2 separate regions of the Homo sapiens genome follow, and region 2 is linked to region 1. Evidence: promoter capture Hi-C in human tissues and cell types (Jung and others, 2019). All regions are on one chromosome and are shown on one strand. The core of a region is centred on a gene start or on the middle of the fragment in contact, and the rest is flanking DNA. Distances in the headings are between cores, read along the strand shown. Region 1 has its middle 6.8 kb from the start of POP7. Region 2 holds the start of AGFG2 (ArfGAP with FG repeats 2).

Region 1 (7,099 bases), core at 295-2,794:
TGGTCCACCCCATACCCAATCCGAAGCCATAGTAATTCTCTTTTTGAGATGGAGTCTCACTCTATTGCCCAGGCTGGAGTGCAGTGGTGCCATTATCTCAGCTCACTGCAACCTCCACCTCCCGGGTTCAAGCAATTCTCCTGCCTCAGCCTCCCGAGTAGCTGGAATTACAGGCATGTGCCACCACGCCCGGTAATTTTTGTATTTTCAGTAGAGATGGGGTTTCGCCATGTTGGCCAGGCTGGTCTCGAACTCCCAACCTCAAGTGATCCGCCCGCCTCGGCCTCCCAAAGTGCTGGGATTACAGGCGTGAGCCACCACACCCGGCTTGAAGCCATAGTAATTCTGCTAAGAGGGGAGAGGCTGGTTTGGAGCCCAGAGCCTCTTGGATACTGAGCAATGCAGGGTCCATTCATCTGTCCTTGAGGAACAGGAAGAAAACAAGAAGCTCCATGGGGCTCCCCGACCAATGCCCACCATCCCCCTGCCCAGTGCCCCCCACCCCCGTCATCTGCCTGCTCTTCATCTTCTAGCAGATGCTGACCCACAGGCCCAGGACCACTGCAGAGCATCTCCTCATTGACCCCTCCAGTTAATCCCTAACCCTGCTGCTCAATTAACTTTCCCACTGAACAGCCTCATTTGTGCTAATTCCCTGAGCAGGAACCTGTCACGGCTTCCTATTGCCTCAGAACTGAGACCCTCCAAGGTCTACCATTCACTTCATGTTCCAGGCTGTTCTCCCGCTTTGCTCACTCCCACTCCCTCCACCACAGGAGATGGTTTGTGCCTTCCTGCCCTTGGCTCATCCTGGATTACCCTCCCACACCATCTCCTCGTTTTCTTTAAAGCCCAAATCTGTGCATCGCCTCCTCCATGAAGCCTTTCTTGATCTCCCAGCAGGAAATCGTCTCCTTCCCTGGCACTGCCGTCATTTATGTACATGTCTTAGGCATCTCACTGGCAGGACCGCCATGGACAGCCGTCAAAGATGAGCACTGCCCAACTCCCAGGGGCATCCATAGAGACTCTGAAGGGAATGGTACCGTCTGGAGTCACGTAGTGCAGGTGCCCTAGTCATCGAAGAGAGCGAAGGGCTGCGTATGGAAGTTCTGATGCATTTTTCTGTCTACCAAGCGTCCAGCATGTCCCTTTTCTGTGGTAACCACCCAAGTGTGGATTGCATTATGTGGTCCCTCCACTACATGCTCAGAGAAGAACCCAACCTAGAGGGGGCACTGAGCCATCCCCCGGTCAACCCAGCTCCCTGGGATCCTGGGGCGTGTGAAGCTTCCATGCACTTCCTGAGCAGGCAGCCACTGAGGCAGGGTTTGAAAAGGGCCAGTTGTGACAGGAGGATGGCGGGTGTGGAGGCAGGCTCTGCTCCACGGATTCCTCCTGGCAGTGGATTCAGATTGGAAATCCAAGCAGAAGCAAATTTACAGCCCCCCGAGCTGTCCCAGACCCCCAGGCAGCACGGAGCCCCAGCTGCCTGGAGTCGGACTTGGGAAGGGGGGCCTCCTGGCTTCTCTTTCCCTCCTCATTTCCAAGCAGTGGCTTCTCAGCTCAGCTCGAGTTCAGCCAGAGGCCCAGAAGACCTTCTGTGCTGGGAGGGGAGGTGGCTGGGGACCTTGTTGGGTGGCCTTTGGGGAACTGTGAAGGAAGCAAGAATGCTGGAGGGCCAGGCACGGTAGCTCACGCCTGGAATCCCAGCACTTTAGGAGGCTAAGGAGGGAGGATCCCTTGAGCCCAGGAGTTTGAGACCAGTCTGGGCAACATAGGGAGACCCTGTCTCTACAGAAAATTTGTTAGGCATGCTGGCACATGCCTGTAGTCCCAGCTACTCGGGAGGCTGAGGTTGGAGGATTGCTTGAGCCCAGGAGTTGGAAGCTGCAGTTAGCTATGATCGCACCACTGCACTCCAGCCTGGGCGAAAGAACAACACCCTTTCTTAAAAAAAAAAAAAGATGCTGAAGAAGGGATTCCTGCTGGAGAACCAAAGGAAAATCCTTTGCCAAAGTCCTCAAAGGAAAATCCTTTACCGCACCTGGCCTACCAAAGTTTTATGAAGCCTATTCCTGACTGATCCTTTGTTCTCTAAGTAAGGTGATCAAGGAGTTAGTTATCAAACTGATGAGGGGCCGGGTGAGGTGGCTCACACCTATAATTTCAGCACTTTGGAAAGCTAAGGTGATCATTTGAGGCCAGGAGTTCAAGACCAGCCGGGGCAACACAGTGAGACCCTGGCTCTATAAAAAATAAAGAAGTTATTTTTTATAGAGTTATATTTTTTATATAAAAAATAAAGAAGTTAGCCAGGCATGGCGGCACATGCCTGGTGTCACAGCTACTTGGGAGGCTGAGGAAGGATGATCATTTGAACCTAGGAGGTCGAGGTTGCAGTGAGCTATGATCATGCCACTGCACTCGAGCCTGGGGAACTGAGCAAGACCCATCTCTAAATAAGTAAAAATAAAACTGATGAGATACCTCAAGAAGTTATTTTATTGCCCGTTCCACTAACTAATAAATATCTGATGAATGAATGGGTCAGTGGATACATGGATGATGCAGAGGAGAATGGCTTGCTGTCTCCTCTATAACAAGCCTCTGCTCCCTTAAGAAAAGGCAACCGTCTTGTCACTTGAAGAATGCAAACAGAGGGTGGACTTTCGCCTTCACAGGACCTGCTAGATTCCTTCCAACTCAGTCTATTAGTCTTGTTTGCTATTAGACAAATATACTTCCCTGAAAAGGGAAAAATTATTTGCTGGTTGATGAACTAAGACACGAGCAGAAGAGCTCACTTAGGCCGGGCACGGTGGCTCACGCCTGTAATCCCAGCACTTTGGGGGCTGAGACGGGCGGATCACGAGGTCAGGAGTTCAAGACCAGCCTGGCCAATATGGTGAAACCCCATCTCTGCTAAAAATACAAAAATTAGCTGGGCATGGTGGCGCACACCTATAGTCCCAGCTACTCAGGAGGCTGAGGCAGAAGAATCACTTGAACTCGAGAGGCGGAGGTTGCGGTGAGCCAAGATTGTGCCACTGGACTCCAGCCTGGGCGACAGAGCCAGACTCTGTCTCAAAAAAAAAAAAAAAGCAACTTTTATGATGAACTTTTGCTCATTACAAAAACAATACGTGACCAAAATTAGAAAACAGCGCTAAACTCAAACACATAAACTGAAAAACACCCATAATGTCATTAGGGTCTTGGGACCTTAAGTGGCCATTTTCACAGGCTTCCTTCTGGTAGGATGACCTTTGCCTCATCCCAAATCTCTGTGCAATTGGACATCTGTTTCCTAAGGAACTACAATTGACACGTTCTCGTCCAACCTCTCTAGTGGTTTGAGGGTTTGTGAAACACCATTTTTCCCTCAACTCCTGACCAAGCACCAGAAACTCACCTGGGACAAAGTGCTGGGCTTCTCTAGCAGGATCATCAGCCTGATCAAACCACTTAATATTTCAAGGTCCCGTCCCCTTCCCTGCTATGCGAGCCACAACTGAGTCTGGCTCAGTTGTTAGTTTCTACTAATAACTCAGACTTGAGAATTAAACGCACACAAAATTGCCTTCCTTCACTTCTCCCCATTCCTATTAAGAAGCCTAAAACCATTTCTTAGCAAAATGGCTTCATACTAAACAATACTAGCTCTTGGCCGGGCGCAGTGGCTCACGCCTGTAATCTCAGAACTTTGGGAGGCTGAGGCAGGCGGATCACCTGAGGTCACGAGTTCGAGACCAGCCTGGCAAACACGGAGAAACCCTGCCTCTACTAAAAATACAAAAAGTAGCCGGGCTTGGTGGAACGTGCCTGTAATCCCAGCTACTCAGGAGGCTGAGGCAGGAGAATCAGTTGAATCCAGGAGGCGGAGGTTGCAGTGAGCTGAGATCACGCCATTGCATTCCAGCCTGGGCAACAAGAGCACAACTCCGTCTCAAAACAAACAGATAAACAAACAAAGAAAACAATAGTAGCTCTTTTTTTTTTTTTTTTGCCTGTAGTCCTAACTACCTGGGAGGCTGAGGCAGGATTGCTTGAGCCTAGAAGTTTGAGGTTGCAGTGAGCTATGATTGTACCATTGCACTCCAGCCTAGGCTACAGAGTGAGACCCTGTCTCTAAAATAAATAAATAAATAAATAAAATGTAAAAAGGAGGGCAGGGCATTGCATTTGCACACACCTTCTGCCTCCATCTCCTCACCCCTCTCCCGTTTTTCAAGCTTTTTTCTTTTTGAGACTGAGTCTCCCTCTGTCACCCAGGCTGGAGTGCAATGGCACAATCTTGGTGCACTGCAACCTCCACCTCCCGGGTTCAAGCAGTTCTCCTGCCTCAGCCTCCTGAGTAGCTGGGATTACAGGCGCCTGCCACCACGCCCAGCTAATTTTGTATTTTCAGTAGAGACGGGGTTTCACCATGTTGGCCAGGCTGGTCTTGAACTCCTAACCTCAGGTGATCTGCCTGCCTGGGCCTCCCAAAGTGCTGGGATTACAAAGAGACGTGGCTCACTGTTTCTGGCCTCCCAAGCTTTGATGGAAGTCACTTTGGAGAGCCAGTAGAGGGAGGAGAACAGAGGCTGGAGCTAGCCTCCCTACGGTCGGGCCTGCAGGCAGGGTTCCCTGCCCCACCTGCCCTGCATGGACTCTAGTAGATGCAGGAGCCTGGTTCACGCCCCCCCACACACAAAAGAGTGAGCCCCAGGCCCCACTCTTCCTTCAGTGGCAATGTGGAGGTCTGTTTCTGCAGAACTGCCACTGAGGGAAGCCCCACTGGCAAGCAGTGAGAAAACATGGAGTAGAAACAACAAACAAATAGGCTGCAGGAGGGAACTGCCAAAACAAACCAGATGGGAAAGGCTGCCTGCCACCACCTCTGCTGGGCTCAGGCCCGGAGCACATACGTGCAGGGAGACACAGCTCCATCCAGCTTCCTGCCGGCTCCCCGCTCGGCTACTGGGGGGCTCCCGGGCAAGGAAGCCTTGCAGTCAGGCTGATGGAAAGGATGTGGCCTGATAGAAATGTCCGCAGCCAGCCAGGTACGGTGGCTCACGCCTGTTATCCCAGCACTTTGGGAGGCCGTAGGCGGGCAGATCACGAGGTCAGGAGATCGAGACCATCCTGGCCAACATGGTGAAACCCCGTCTTTACTAAAAATACAAAAATTAGCTGGGTGTGGTGGTGCGCACCTGTAATCCCAGCTACTCAGCTACTTGGGAGGCTGAGGCAGGAGAATCGCTTGAACCAGGGAGTCGGAGGTTGCAGTGAGCGAAGATCACGCCACTGCACTCCAGCCTGGCGATAGAGACTCTGTCTCAAAAAAAAAAAAAAAAAAAAGAAATGTCTGCAGCCTTGTCTCCCAGTACCTCTTGCTTTCTAGCCACCTCGAGTCCCTCCAGTCCCAGAACGTAGCTGCCTATTCATTAATCCCCTCCCTGCCCACTGTTTTTTGAGACAGGTTCTTGCTGTTTCACAAGCCCTCAGTCACGGCTTACTGCAGCCTCAACCTCTTGGGCTCAAGCAATCCTCCCACCTCAGCCTCCTGAGTAGCTGGACCACAGGTGCACACCGCCAAGCCCAGTTAATTTTTAAATTTTTGATAGAGACAAAGTCTTACTCTATTGCCCAGGCTGGTCTCAAACTCCTGAGCTCTAGCAATTTTCTCTCTTCGGCCTTCCAAAGTGCTGGGATTACAGGCATGGCCACCATTCCCAGCCAAATCCACCCATCTCCCCGCCCCACTGTGATCTCTCTGCCAAATATGCCATCTCCCTTCTTTTCTGCCTGGCAAACTCCTATACATCCTTCAACACCCAGATCAAAGGTGAGTGAAACCATTTTGGGTCCCACCAGGAAGTTATTAGCCCTTTCCATCTCCACATTTCCTTATCATTGCTACTCTTATGTCTCACACATCTTACTCATTCACAAAAAATTATGTGTCCACCTTCCCAATTAGATGGCGAGCTCCTTGAACATAGGGACCATTTCATACGCAGATGCCAGAGGAAGGGATTTTGATGAATTAGAAGACTGATCTTCAGACCTCCAAACCAAACTACCTTCCTTGAATTAGAGTGAAATTCTGTTCCTAACCTGTAAATCAGAGGCTCTTAAACTCTTATGACCTCAAACGGTAAAAAACACAATGTACATCCTATTATAGTACATATATATATATATATATATATACACACATGCCTAACTGAAAAATTTGCTGGCCAGGCCTAGTGGCTCACACCTGTAATCCCGGCATTTTGGGAGGCTGAGGTGGGTGGATCACCTGAGGTCAGGAGTTTGAAATCAGCCTGGACAACATGGCGAAACCCCATCTCTACTAAAAATACAAAAATTAGCCAGGCGTGGTGGCACACGCCTATAATTCCAGCTACTCAGGAGGCTGAGACAGGAGAATCGCTTGAACCTGGGAGGCAGAGGTTGCAGTGAGCCAAGATTGTGCTACTGAACTCCAGCCTAGGAGATAGAGACTCTGCCTCAAAAAAAACAAAAACATCTGCAATAAAAACACCACCATTTAAGTTGCACTTTTTTTAAAACTTGGGTTCTTTTTTCTTTTTCTTTTCTTTTTTTAGACAAGGTCTTGCTCTGTCGCCCAGGCTGGAGTGCACTGGCGTGATCTCAGCTCACTGCAACCTCCCCCTCCTGGGCTCAGGTCATCCTCCCACCTCAGCCTCCCAAGTAGCTGGGACCACAGTTTTGTGCCACCATGCCCAGATAACTTTTTATATTTTTTGTAGAGATGGGATTTCGCCATGTTGCCTAGGCTGGTCTCGAACTCCTGCGCTCAAGAGACTGACCTGCCTCGGCCTCCCAAAGTGCTGGGATTATAGGCGTGAGCCACCACACCCAGCCTTATTTTTTTTGTTGTTGTTTTTGTTTTTTGAGACGGACTCGCTCTGTCGCCCAGGCTGGAGTGCAGTGGCACAATCTCGGCTCTCTGCAACCTCCGCCTCCCTGGTTCAAGCGATTCTCCTGCCTCAGCCTCTAGAGTAGCTGGAACTACAGGCATGTGCCACCACGCCTGGCTAATTTTTTGTATTTTTAGTAGAGACAGGGTTTCACCATGTTA
Region 2 (6,890 bases), core at 900-3,399, 180 kb after region 1:
CCACGATGACTTTTACTTAGACCAAAGTCAAGTTCATCCTTACAACCCACAAGTGAGGTTGATCAGAACCCAGAGAGAAGTTTAGCAAAGGAGGTTAAAACGAAGTAAATAATTCCAAACGGTATCTTGAGAAAACTAAATCCTCATTGCTGGTCTGCCATGATCATCACTAATATCAAACAACAAATGTTGGAAACCGCAATGCCCATATGGCACTGGATAAGTTACGAAACCTCTCTTTGCTTCTGTTCTCCCATCTGTCTTGCAAGAACAATAGTGCTCGCTCCCTGGCTCCTAAAGGTATCAAGACAGGGAAAGCTTTTTTTTTTTTTTTTTTTTTTGAGACAGTGTCTTGCTCTGTCGCCAGGCTGAAGTGCAGTGGCGCAATCTCAGCTCACTGCAACCTCCACCTCCCGGGTTCAAGTGATTCTCCTGCCTCAGCCTCCCAAGTAGCTGGGAGTACAGGTGCGCGCCACCACACCCAGGTAATTTTTGTATTTTTAGTAGAGATGGGGTTTCACCATGTTGGCCAGGATGGTCTCGATCTCTTGACCTCATGATCTGCCTGCCTCGGCCTCCCAAAGTGCTAGGATTACAGGCGTGAGCCACAGCGCCTGGCTGGAAAGCATTTTTTAAAAAACAAAACAAAAACAACAGTGTCTTAAAATAAGACTAAAAAATTGTCAAAATAAATCCCTTGACAAACTTATTAAAAAACAGAGATCCAGGCCTGATATCAGATGTTAATCATGCATCTAACCAAATAATATCTTAATTTGGGAGTAGGAGGAGTGCAGAGGGGAGTGGAGGGGGCTTTACTATATAACCAGAAATCTAGGCTAGAATTGTGGCTGTAAATTCACTCTGGCATGACCGAACAGTACCAATGCCAAGAGTAGCACTCAGATGATGCACCAAAGCCCCCCCAAAATCTAGAGTTTCCTGGATGCTACCACCAGGATCCAGTCATGGCAACAGGGATCTTAAAGGTGTAAATGATTAACCTTCAGGATGGCTCACCTAGACGTGCAAACGTTTGAAAAAGCTAAGCTCTCTACCAGGGTAACCCATTGGCTCTCATCTCTTAGATTTCGTAAGAGTTTTACCTTCTGGGTAACATTTCAAAGCCCTGCTAAGATTAGTATCTACACCTGAACTCTGGACCATGGCTCCCTTCCAGCCACTATCTCTAGGCTGTCAATCGGGGTTAATTCGCTTTTTTTTTTTTTTTTAATCCTGTACTCTAATCATAGGAATTTCAACCAAGTTTCAGCTGGCTTCTGCATCTCACACTCCAGCAGGGACACAAGCCCGAAGGAAGAAAGGTGCCCGTCCATCTCCAGGCCGGCTTTCCCCACCTTTTTCCTTTTTGCTTTCCACCTGCATGAAGTTCCCTCTAAAGGTGCATGTCATTTTCTGGCCCTTTAAGTCCCGACACCCCATCCCACTCCGAGTTCCCTTCCATCCTCCGCACTTTCTCCCTCCCCACTTGCAGTTTGCCTCGACCCCCTCGGGGAGTTTCTCGGTCCCTCTCCGGGCGTCTTTCTGCACCCGTACCCTTCTCTCCGCAGAGCGACTCCGGCCTTGCTTCCTCTCCCCTGCCCTTTCCCCTCCCCACCACACCGCTGCAGCAGACGACCCCGTCCCCACAGCCGGCGCGTTCCCTGACCTCCCCTCCGCCCCTCACCTCGGCCCCCTTCCCTCGCGCCCCGGAGCCCCGGCCTCCCCACCCCGCCCCCGGGTCCCCCCACGCCGACCTCGGCCACTCCCTCCCGGTCACTCACAGGAGGCCGGAGCAGGTGGTGCACACGAAGCTGCCCACGGTGATATCCACGTAGGTGACCCCGCGCTGGGCGCACTCGAAGCAGTGGCGGTTCCCGGCCTGGCTGCAGCCACCCAGCTCCCGCACCCGACGGCACCACACCTCCGAGGCCGCCTCCGCCTCCGCCTTGCCCCCGCTGACCCCGCCGCCCGGGCCCGGGCCCTTCTTCGCCGCCATCACCATCGCTGCCCACTCCCTCCCCGCTAGTCAGCAATCACCCCTTCAACCACTGCCGCCTTCCCGCCTCCTCAGCCGCCTCCGCACGCCCGGCTCCCCTGACAGAAGCTCGGGAGCGGGCGGCATCCGCAGGAGACTTCGCCGTCCACCACCCTCCTTGCCCGTCCTGCACACTGATTGGCTAGGTTTCTCCCACCTCCTTACTCCGATTGGCCCTCCCTGGGACGGCCTCCGGTTGCTGGAGCCGCCAATGCCCCGCCCCACCGCCTTCAGGCCTCAGGCCTCTCCTATTGGCCGGCAGAGACCCCAGCAGCGAGAACCGTGCGTGCCCTCTCCTTGTCCCCGCCCCCTCTCGCCGCTGCCTCCACCGTGGCCCGCCTCCTAGTTCCGATTGGTGAGTCCTCGGCACTCGGGCTCCGACGCTAATTTTGATTGGCTGGCGGGGCTGCAAAGTTAGCGCGCGAGACAGAGGAGGTGCCCCGCGCGTGCGTAGCTGTCGTCCTCCCGACTGATGACGTTAATTCCCGGCAAATTTCAAAGGCTTACTCTAGACTGTGTAGAGTGTCATGCAAAGCCGAAGAGAAGTGGCCATGTGAGGGGCTGAGCAGGAGGGGGAAAGAAGAGAGCGCTTAAGGGAGAGAGGGAGAGGGAGCAAGAGTGCTTTACTAGACCAGTGCTCTAATTCCTGAGCCACAGAGCGAAGGGAGTGCTTTATAAATGTCATTTCATTCGCTCCGCCTATCCCAGAGGTGGAATCCCCATTTTACACCCTTAGGTTCAACAACTTGCGGCAGATCACACGAGTGCGTGGCCCAGGATTCCACTCTGGGTCTTCCAACTTTAGAAACCCTGCCTTTAACCCTCCTAGTAGGTGGACTATTATTCGATTATTCATTTAACAAACACTGAGTGTCTGCTAGGTTTCAGGCACGTTCTAGACACTGGGAATAGAATACAGCAGCGAAGCAATCAAACAAAATATTCTTATAGAGCTTAGTTTCTAGTAGGGGGAAGCAAACAATACACAAATTAAAGAATCACCAGTTAGTAATAAATCCTACGCAGAGAATTAAAATCACATCTTGGAAAAGACTTTTTGGGTACTTTTTTAATTTTTTAATTTAATTTTAATTTTTTGAGATGGAGTCTCACTCTGTTGCCCAGACTGGAGTGCAGTGGCACGATGTCAGCTCACTGCAACCTCTGCCTCCTGGGTTTAAGCAATTCTCATGCCTCAGTCTCCTGAGTAGCTGGGATTACAGGCGGCCACCACCACCCCCAGATAATTTTTGTATTTTTATTATTATGATTATTATTATTTGAGATGGAGTCTCGCTCTGTCGCCCAGGCTGGAGTGCAGTGGCACGATCTCGGCTCACTGCAAGCTTCGCCTTCTGGGTTCACGCCATTCTCCTGCCTCAGCCTCCCGAGTAGCTGGGACTACAGGCACCCGCCACCACGCCTGGCTAATTTTTTTGTATTTTCAGTGGAGACGGGGTTTCACCGTGTTAGCAAGGATGGTCTCGATCTTCTGACCTCGTGATCCGCCGGTCTTGGCCTCCCAAAGTGCTGGGATTACAGGCGTGAGCCACCGCGCCCGGCCAATTTTTGTATTTTTAGTAGAGACAGGATTTCACCATGTTGGCCAGGCTGGTCTCAAACTCATGGCCTCAAGTGAGCCTCCCGCCTTGGCGTCCCAAAGTGCTGGGATTACAAGCATGAGCCACAATGCCTGGCCACCTGTTGGGTACTTCAGATTGGGTTGGTCACCATTTTTAAAACAATTACTTTTTTTTTGAGACAGGGTCTCGCTTTATCACCCAGGCTGGAGTGCAGTGACACAATCATGGCTCACTGCAGCCTCAACCTTCTGGACTCAAGTGATCCTTCCACCTCAGCCTTCCAAGTAGCTGGGAGTACAGCTGTGCACCACCATGCCTGGCGAATTTTTAAAAATTTTTTGTAGAGATTGGGTCTCACTATATTGCCCAGGCTGGTCTGGACCTCCTGGGCTCAAGTGATCCGCCCACCTCAGCCTCCATCTCCCAGGTTCAAGCGATTCTCCTGCCTCAGCCTCCCAAGTAGTTGGGATTACAGGTGCGTGCCACCATGTCCAGCTAATTTTTGTATTTTTAGTAGAGATGGGGTTTCACCATATTGGCCAGGCTGGTCTTGAAGTCCTGACTTCAAATGATCCACCCACCTTGGCCTCCCAAAGTGCTAGGATTACAGACGTGAGTCACCGCACCCGGCCTCTTTTTGTTTTGTTTTGTTTTTTTTGTTTTTTTTTTTTTTTTTGAGACAAGGTCTTGCTCTGCTGCCCAGGTTGGAGGGCAGTGGCACAATCATACCTCACTGCAGCCTCAACCTCCCCAGTTCAAGTGATCCTCCCACCTCAGTCTCCAGGGTAGCTGAGACTACAGGCGCACACCACCATGCCTGGCTAATTTTTGATTTTTTGTAGAGAAGGGGTCTCACTATGTTGTCCAGGCTGGTGGCTGGCAGCCTGCTTTCTCTCTCTCTCTCTTGTTTTTTTCTTTTTGAGACAGGGTCTTACTCTGTCACCCAGGCTGGAGTGCAGTGGCACAATCTTGGCTCACTGCAACCTCCACTTCCTGGGGCTTGAGTGCTCCTCCCACCTCAGCCTCCCGAGTAGCTGGGACTACAGGTGCATGCCACCATGCCCAGCTAATTTTTTGTATTTTTAGCATGTTGGCCAGGCTGGTCTCGAACACCTGAGTTCAGGTCATCTGCCCGCTTTGGCCTCTCAAAGTGCTGGGATTATAGGTGTGAGCCACCGCACCCGGCCCCATTTTTCAATTAATGGCACCATGAGCCACCTAGTTGCCCAAAGCAAAAATCTAGAGCTACTCTCTTCAATACGGCAGCCACTAATCATATGTGGCTATTTAAGTTTAAATTAAATTAAAATGGGCTGGGCGTGGTGGCTTATGCCTGTAATCCCAGCATTTTGGGAGGCCGAGGCAGGCGGATCACGAGGTCAGGAGTTCGAGAAAAGCCTGGCCAACATAGTGAAACCCTTTAATCTACTAAAAATACAAAAATTAGCCAGGCATGGTGGCAGGCACCTGTAATCCCAGCTACTTGGAAGGCTGAGTCAGGAGAATTGCTTGAACGTGGGAGGTGGAGGTTGCAGTGAGCTGAGATCGCGCCATTGCACTCCACCCTGGGTGACAGAGCGAGACTGTCTCAAAAAAAAAAAAAGAAAGAAAGAAAGAAGAAGGAAAGAAAAAGAAAAGGAAAGGAAAAGGGGAGACTAAAGGAGGAGTAGGTTAGGGCAGGGCCTAACCTACTGGGCCATGGACCAGTACCTGTCTGTGGCCTGTTAGGAACCAGGCCACGCAGCAGGAAGTAAGTGGTGGGCAAATGAGCAAAGCTGCATCTGTATTTACAGCCACTACCCATTGCTCCCATTACCGCCTGAGCTCTGCCTCCTCTCAGATCCGCAACAGCATTAGATTCTCATAGGAGCACGAACCCTATTGTAAACTGCGCATGCAAGGGATCTAGGTCATGCACTCCTTATAAGAATCTAATGCTTGATGACCTGTCACTGTCTCCCATCACCCCCAGATGGGACCGTCTAGTTGCGAGAAAACAAGCTCAGGGCTCCCACTAATTCCACATGATGGTGAGTTGTATAATTATTTTGTTATACATTACAATGTAATAATAATAGAAATAAAGTGCACAGGCCAGGCGCGGTGGCTCACGCCTCTAATCCCAGCACTTTGGGAGCTGAGGTAGGCAGATCACGAGGTCAGGAAATCGAGACCATCCTGGCCAACATGGTGAAACCTCGTCTCTACTAAAAATACAAAACTTAGCTGGCCATGGTGGCACGTGCCTGTAATCCCAGCTACTTGGGAGGCTGAGGCAGGAGAATCGCTTGAACCCAGGAGGTGGAGGTTGCAGTGAGCCAAGATCGTGCCACTGCACTCCAGCCTGGTGACAGAGCGAGACTCCGTTTAAAAAAAAAAAAGTGCACAATAAACTTAATGTGCTCAGATCATCCCAAAATCATCCCCCAACTCCCACCCGCCGGTTAGTGGAAAAATTATCTTCCTGGTCCGTGGTGCCAAAACGGTTGGGGACTGCTGGGTTAGGGGGTGCTGATAGGCAGAAATCAGTAGCTTGGTTTTGGACATGTTGATTTGAGATCCTTGTGAGGCATCCAGTGGGCTGATAAGCAGGCAGGTGGATATGTATAGACTGGATTTCCAGGCCAGGCCAGAGCTGGAAATGTAGGTTTAGGAGTCATCGCTTAGAGCCATGGGACTGGTTGCTTAGGTACAGCATGTAGAGAGAGACTAGAAGCAGGCCCAGAAGTAAACCCTAGGCACCCAATGTGTACTTTGTTCCTTTTCTCCAGTTATCACAGCCACATGCATTTCAACATCCCTAAAAAAAGGCAACACCAGACCGGGTGCAGTGGCTCATGCCTGTAATCCCAGCACTTTGGGAGGCCGAGGGGGGTGGATCACCTGAGGTCAGGAATTTGAGACCAGCCTGGCTAACATGGTGAAACCCCGTTTCTACTAAAAAATACACAAAATTAGCTGGGCATGGTGGCGCATGCCTGTAATCCCAGCTACTCAGGAGGCTGAGGCAGAATCGCCTGAACCCAGAAGTTGGAGGTTGCAGTGAGCTGAGATCGCACCATTGCACTCCAGCTTGGGCAACAAGAGCAAAACTCCATCTCAAAAAAAAAAAAATACAAAAATCAGCTCGGTGTGATGGCGCATGCCCGTAATCCCAGCTACTCAGGAGGCTGAGGCACAAGAATTGCTTGAACCTGGAAGGCAGAGGTTGCAGTGAGCCAAGATTGCATAGCTCCAGCCCAGGTGACAGAGCGGGACTCTATCCCCCT

The links. The method cuts DNA at HindIII sites, captures the fragments that hold promoters and counts their contacts. A contact is called where the count stands out against the background at its distance.
Region 2: the fragment with the promoter of AGFG2 here is called in contact with a fragment that was not itself captured in region 1 in 1 of the 25 tissues and cell types used here (spleen).

The regions. Positions count from the first base shown.
Region 1 is chr7:100,709,369-100,716,467 of GRCh38, reverse strand. No RefSeq gene overlaps it. Among named protein-coding and RNA genes, the nearest start is that of POP7, 6.8 kb to the right of the region's middle. The HindIII fragment of the contact is 5,689 bases long and covers 1-4,388 here.
Region 2 is chr7:100,534,462-100,541,351 of GRCh38, reverse strand. It overlaps AGFG2 (ArfGAP with FG repeats 2), which reads right to left and starts at 2,149. Exons shown (of 12, transcript NM_006076.5): 1 at 1,785-2,149. The coding sequence starts at 2,005. RefSeq lists silencers at 1,789-2,088, 2,139-2,418 and an enhancer at 2,298-2,799. The HindIII fragment of the contact is 17,077 bases long and covers 1-6,890 here.